Linked DNA regions of Homo sapiens: region 2 is linked to region 1. Evidence: promoter capture Hi-C in human tissues and cell types (Jung and others, 2019). All regions are on one chromosome and are shown on one strand. Each heading gives the region's core, a stretch centred on a gene start or on the middle of the fragment in contact. The rest is flanking DNA. Distances are from core to core; before and after follow the strand shown. Region 1 holds the start of DNASE1L3 (deoxyribonuclease 1L3). Region 2 overlaps ABHD6 (abhydrolase domain containing 6, acylglycerol lipase).

Region 1 (3,005 bases), core at 417-2,916:
CCCCCATGATGGACTCACCAAGGAACAAAAAGACAGCCGGGTTTCATCAGTGAGGAAGGAGATGGGAACTCAGTGGCTACCCAGGCTCCACGGGCCATGTGTGAAGTGGGGAAAATCATTGCCTTGCATGTCAGGGTTTCCCATTGAACAATCTTGTCATGGCTCCCACAGGCTTGGCATTGCTATCCTGGCTAAACAACACCATCTAGAAGGCCTTGGTTACCTCCCAAAGGGCAGGGCCACCTGGGTCTGAGAGGCTCGTCCAAGGAAGAACAGAGCCTGCCAGTCCTCACTCCAATCCTCCTTCCCAGTGACAGCAACAGCAGCGGCTCTGGCTCATGAATACCCACCTTGCTGCAGGCTCTGCTGGGTGCCTCAGGCACCCTGAGTTCTCTTCACCAGCCAGTGCTACAGGTGGTATTTGGATGTGGTCGCCATTTTACTAGGGGAGCTGGTGGTTCAGGGAGGGGCAGGGCCTCCCAAGCTCACAAGTCTGGTAGGTGGAATCTGGACCCAGGGCTCCTGGCCCCCCTACCACACCATGGTGTCTCAGGTTTCCTAAGGTAATAAGTACCTTTCCAGAGTCCTGGGAAAGGGTTAAGTTGCCAGCATCAAAAATTAATTAACCTGTAGGATAAAGGGAGTCAATTGACTCCAGAGAAAGCAAGCAGTGTCCCCGGACATTGGGTATATCACCCAAGGAAAGCGTAAGCGAAAGTGGAAGGAGTGGGGAAGTAGAGGAGAGGGAGAGAGGAAGGAAGGAGGAGAAGAAGAAAGAAAGACAAAGAGAGGGAGGGATGATGAGGATGGGAGAGAGAAGGAAGGAAGGAAAAAAGTAAGGAAGGGAAAGGAAGAAAGAAACAAAGAAAAAGAGAAAGGAAGAAGAAAGAAAAGACAGAAAGAAGAAAGAAAAAGGAAGAAAGAAAAAGGAAGAAAGAAAAAGAAAGAAAGAAAGAGAGAAAGAAAGAAAAGAAAGAAAGAAGAAAAGGAAAGAGAGAGAAAGGAGCTGGGCTTTGCTGGTGAAAAGGAGTAGCTGTATAAGGTTACTTCATCTTTCTTTGTTCATCACCTCTACATGGGGAGTAATAGTCCCTCTTCATAAAGATTATGAAGTGAAACCATGTGCTTATAGTGCCTGATACAGGCATTCAATAAATAGCAATAAAAATCATAATGGCTAACCCTTATCTGGAACGTATAATGAGCCAGATACTACATTAAGAGCTTTCCATTTGCCAACTCCTGTAGTCCCCCCAGCAACCCTGGAGGGAACCATTGTTATCACCCCTGTTTTAAGATGACGGCAGGAGGTACAGAGAGTTGAAGTGGTTATTGTTCCAAGCCAGCTTCTACATTCCCCCTAAGGGCCAACTTTAAGTTCCTTGAGTCTCTTAAAGTCTGCAGACAGGAGAGAGGGTGTGAGGGGTGTCTGGGATCCTCCTCCCAGGAAAGGGGCTCACCTTCACAATGACATCCATGGCATTCTTGTCTTCCTGCTTGCTTTCCCCAAAGGACCTGACGTTGAAGGAGCAGATCCTCATGGCCAGGGCGCTGTGGATGGAGAGGAGGAGAAGCAGCAGTGGGGCCAGCTCCCGTGACATCCTGGCGCTGCTCTGGCTTCAAGACTCTGTGAGAAGACAGCAGTGCTTGGAGTGCTGGATTCTGGCCACTTCCGCAGGCTCCACTGACTTATAAAGCCTGCAGATAACAGGAATTACTGGATTTCTCCTTGCAACTTTCAGTTCTCTGAGGAACTGAAGATCATGGGTTTTAATCCCCAAGGAAATACAGATACATTGGGCTAGCCTTTAAGGAGCCCTTATGTTCGTCACCCTGGTGCAGAAATTGGCATGCCTCATTTAGGCGCCATCCTCCACAAAGTCACTCATATCCCAACCGGGAGCCAGCTCTGACATCTAGTCATCGGTCTTGCGGTTGCATGCCATGTGCCTTTTCCTGACAGTGGATGAACTCGGAAGTGGTCCACCCTAGAGGGCACCTGGGGTGACGGAACCTTCTGCTGGGGGACAATGAGGCAGGAGGCATGGGAAATTCTGCTCGGTTTTCTCTAAATCACTGGGATTTGGCGGCCTGCTGTCCTCAGACACACCCAGACTGTGACTCTAATTGCCCTGGTGGTGTAAAGTAAGGTCAAGAGTAGTTTGAATTACTTAATTTTTTTAGGCAGCTTTACCGTACAAATACTAGGAGTGTGTTGCCAGAGAAAGCAATTGGGGATCTGATGGAATGGATGAGGAAAATGTCCCTGGACTCTGCGAGCAAATAGCCCGTGAAACCCATGGAGAGACCCGTGATTGAAGCTGATATTAATTTAATATTGGCGAGAGTTGTGTGACCCTGGGAGAGAAAGGTCTTGTAAGAACTGTAGGATATCAACTCAAGCAAAATGACTTTTAGAGATATGGGCAGGAAACTATGAAGATCTGTAAAGCAAAAAAAAATTAAAAAAAAAAGCAAAATCCAATCAAGGTATATTAATGGACTTTGGCAAAGACAATTCTGTGAAAAGGGTAGGGAATAAGAATAACTCCAAGCCAGCATCGGGATCTGTGGACCAACCCCTCTTGTGGTGATGGGTCTGTGGCCACAGCCACAGGGAAAATTATACATATATCCCCAACATACATCCAGGCAGCATACTGGCCAAGCATGCCAGGAATTCTATAAGATAACCCCAAATAGTACATGGAAGGAAATGGTTTCCTGAGTTCGTGCTGCAATGAATCTCCCTGTTGTCTGCAACCTAAGACCTCAGGCCTGGTTGAATCTCTGGTAAAGGTGGCTCTGGGCCGGGCGCAGTGGCTCACTCCTGTAGCCCCAGCACTTTGGGAGGCTGAGGTGGGTGGATCACTTGAGGTCAGGAGTTCAAGGCCAGCCTGGCCAACATGGTGAAACCCTGTCTCTACTAAAAATACAAAAATTAGCCAGGCGTGGTGGTGGGCGCCTATAATCCCAGCTACTTGGGAGGCTGAGGCAGGAGAATG
Region 2 (3,213 bases), core at 261-2,760, 72 kb after region 1:
AGACCTTGGGAAAAGTGCAGTATTTGGGCAGGAGTGTCCCAGTTTTCCAGGTACAGTCTGTCATGGCTTCCCTGGCTAGGAAAGGGAAATCCCCCGACCCCTTGCACTTCCCAGGTGAGGCGATGCCTGCCCTGCTTCAGCTCGCCCTCTGTGGGCTGCACCCACTGTCCAACCAGTCCCAGTGAGATGAACCAGGTACGTTAATTGGAAATGCAGAAATCACCCGCCTTCTGCGTTGATCACGCTGGATGCCGCAGACCGGAGCTGTTCCTATTCGGCCATCTTGGAACCTATCCTCGTTATACTCTTAAAAATTGTTGAGGAACCCAAAGGGTTTTTATTTATAGGGGTTATATTTATTATTAATGTTTACCATATTAGAAATTAAAACTCAGGCCGGGTGCGGTGGTTCATGCCTGTAATCCTAGCACTTTGGGAGGCCAAGATGGGAGGATTGCTTGAGACTAGGAGTTCAAGACCAGCCTGGTCAACGTAGCGAGACCCCATCTCTATTTAAATACAAATAAAAGAAAATAAATGAAAACTCAGAAGATTCCAAAATGCAATGAATGTACAAGCACTTATTCCAGTAGCCAAGAGCAAGGACATCATCCCACATTTTATAGGCTCTGAAAAACAGTGTACTTTTGAGAGAATGTAAGTGAAGAGGCAAGTAACATTGAGTATTAGGAAAGTAGTTTGACCTCCTAGACTCCCAAGAACCACTTTGAAAAATGCTGGACTAGATCCTGTAGGACCTTATAGGTACGGAAAGGAGCCAGGAGTTTTTCTAAGTATAATAGGACCACTGAGAGATTGTAGGAGAGCACAAATGGAACAGAGGAACCCATTTGGGAACTATTGTGCCTTGGAGATGATGGTGGTGTAGACTAGGATGGTAGCAATGGAGATGAGATTTGAGAAAGAATGGACAGGATGTACAGGCAAATTGGAAATGGGGGCTGGGGAAAGGGGAGGAGTCCCAGGTGACTTCCAGCACTTGAGGTCCTGGCTGGGCATGGTGGCTTGCACCTGTATTCCCAGCACTTTGGGAGGCCAAGGCGGGTGGATTGTGTAAATGCAGGAGTTCGAGACCAGCCTGGGCAACGTGGTGAAGCCCCATCTCTACAAAAAAAAATTTTTTTAATTAGCCAAGTGTGGTGGTGCGTGCCTGTAGATCCAGCTACTCGGGAGGCTGAGGTGAGAGGATCACCTGAGCCCAGGAGGCAGAGGCTGCAGTGAGCCAAGATCATGCCACTGCACTCCATCCTGGGCAACAGAGTGAGACCCTGTCTCAAAAAAACAACAACAAAAACAAAAACAGAGGTAGTATATTCTGAAGAGTAGAAGGGCAGGCTTGGGGAATATGCCAAGGACTCCATTTTTCATGTGTTAAGTTCAGGTTGCCTGTGAGGCCTCCAAGTGCAGAGGTCAAGGTGTAGCTGAGGGAAGTCTGGCCTGAAGCTGTACCACTGGAGCCATCAGCAGACGCTAATATTGAAGGTTATGGGACTGAATGAAGTCATCTAGGGAAATGGTGTGAAGAACCAAGAGAGGAGAGTCCATGGCTGAGGCTTCATAACCCCAAATTATCTCCCTCTGTTGTAGGAGCTGGACCCTGCCTGGAGGTGGGCAGGTCCTCCTAAGACTTGAGGGAATAGATCCCATTCAGAAGTTGTGAACATGGCTCAGTTAATAGATACGGCCTGTCCCTCAGGAAACACCCAGAATCTGATGCTGTGGCATGTTCCACCCCTGAAATCCCTTTTTAGCCATGAAGTAGCATTCCTTTCTCCCAGCACTGATCTCTTCCCAGAATAGAGTGGCCAAATGATGTTTTAGAAAACTCCATGTTTTGGGTTGTCAGGGATATGAAAACACCAAGAGAAAAATAAATGGCAGCTCCAAAAGTCTTTCCTTCCTAGGAGAGAAGGAGCACCTGCACACTCAGCCCACCATGTCATATTGTGTTGTGATTGCACGTCTGTGTCTTCCACTAGGGACTTTGTCTTAATTGGCTGTTCTATCCCCAGACTTTAGCACAGTGCTTGCATGAAGTAGGTCCTAGGTATAGATTGGATGGATTGATGGATGAGAGGATGCCTGGATAATGCAGGGATGGACAATGGATGGGTGGGTAGATGCAGGATAGATTTTTGCATGAATTGATTGATGTGCCAGTGCACAGATGATTTAGGTCTGCAGGATGGATAGATGGCTGAATGGTTGGATGGATGGATGGATGGGAGGATATCTGGTTAATGCAGAGATGGAGGTTGGATGGATTGATGAATACAGGATAGATAGGTAGACAAATGCATATGTGGTTCAGGATGGATGGCTGCATTGAGCAGAGGTGGAGGATGGATGGACACAAGATGAATAGATATGTGGGTACAGGTGGATAGCTGAACAAAGAAAATCTCTGATGCTGAGCACAATGTTGTTATTCAACAAATTGTCATTGTCCTCATGTCCAGGCTGAATGAGTTAGAGTCTAGTGATGCTCCAGAGGGTTGGTTTAGTCCATAGCAGCCATGGCTGGTTCTTCCCCACTTTCAGTCAGTGCACAGGACTCCTGAGAGAGTGTAATTAAAGGGTTCAGACCTGTTTGCAGGTAGAGGAGAGGAGTAGAGGAGTACAGCCACTAATGTGAACCCTGTACTCTACCTCAGGAGTCCTGAGGCAGGAGGAAGAGAAGAACTGTGTTCCTTCCAGCCACCACTACCTCTTTGGGTCAGTAGCCCAGGTCCAGAAGATGTGGCCTGTCCACATTGGCTGCAGCCCTCACCAGCCCTCAGCAGGGAAGGCAAAGACAGTGTCAAATGATAAACAAAGGGCTGTTGAACCCTCCCAGTGGGACTGTGGAACCCTCCCCAGAATCTTTTCAATAGTTTATTTCTTTGTTGTTTAATAGACCTATCATCCCCCAGTGGCTTAATTTTTTTAATGGAACTTGTTCTGCGTTTGGATATTACTGGCGAATTACTTGATATTATGGTCATCCTCATTATGTCTTTTTTTTTTTTTTGAGATAGAGTCTCACTGTCGCCCAGGTTGGAGTGCAGTGGCGCAATCTCAGCTCACTGCAACCTCCGCCTCCTGGGTTCAAGTGATTCTCCTGCCTCAGCCTCCCGAGTAGATGGGATTACAGGCCTGCACCATCACATCCTGCTAGTTTTTGTCTTTTTAGTAGAGATGGGGGTTTCACCA

The links. The method cuts DNA at HindIII sites, captures the fragments that hold promoters and counts their contacts. A contact is called where the count stands out against the background at its distance.
Region 2: a fragment that was not itself captured here is called in contact with the fragment with the promoter of DNASE1L3 in region 1 in 8 of the 25 tissues and cell types used here (H1 embryonic stem cells, IMR-90 fibroblasts, aorta and 5 more).

The regions. Positions count from the first base shown.
Region 1 is chr3:58,209,306-58,212,310 of GRCh38, forward strand. It overlaps DNASE1L3 (deoxyribonuclease 1L3), which reads right to left and starts at 1,667. Exons shown (of 8, transcript NM_004944.4): 1 at 1,461-1,667. The coding sequence starts at 1,601. The HindIII fragment of the contact is 9,412 bases long and covers 716-3,005 here.
Region 2 is chr3:58,281,440-58,284,652 of GRCh38, forward strand. The region is part of intron 7 of ABHD6 (abhydrolase domain containing 6, acylglycerol lipase); the gene reads left to right. Among named protein-coding and RNA genes, the nearest start is that of RPP14, 23 kb to the right of the region's middle. The HindIII fragment of the contact is 5,775 bases long and covers 1-3,213 here.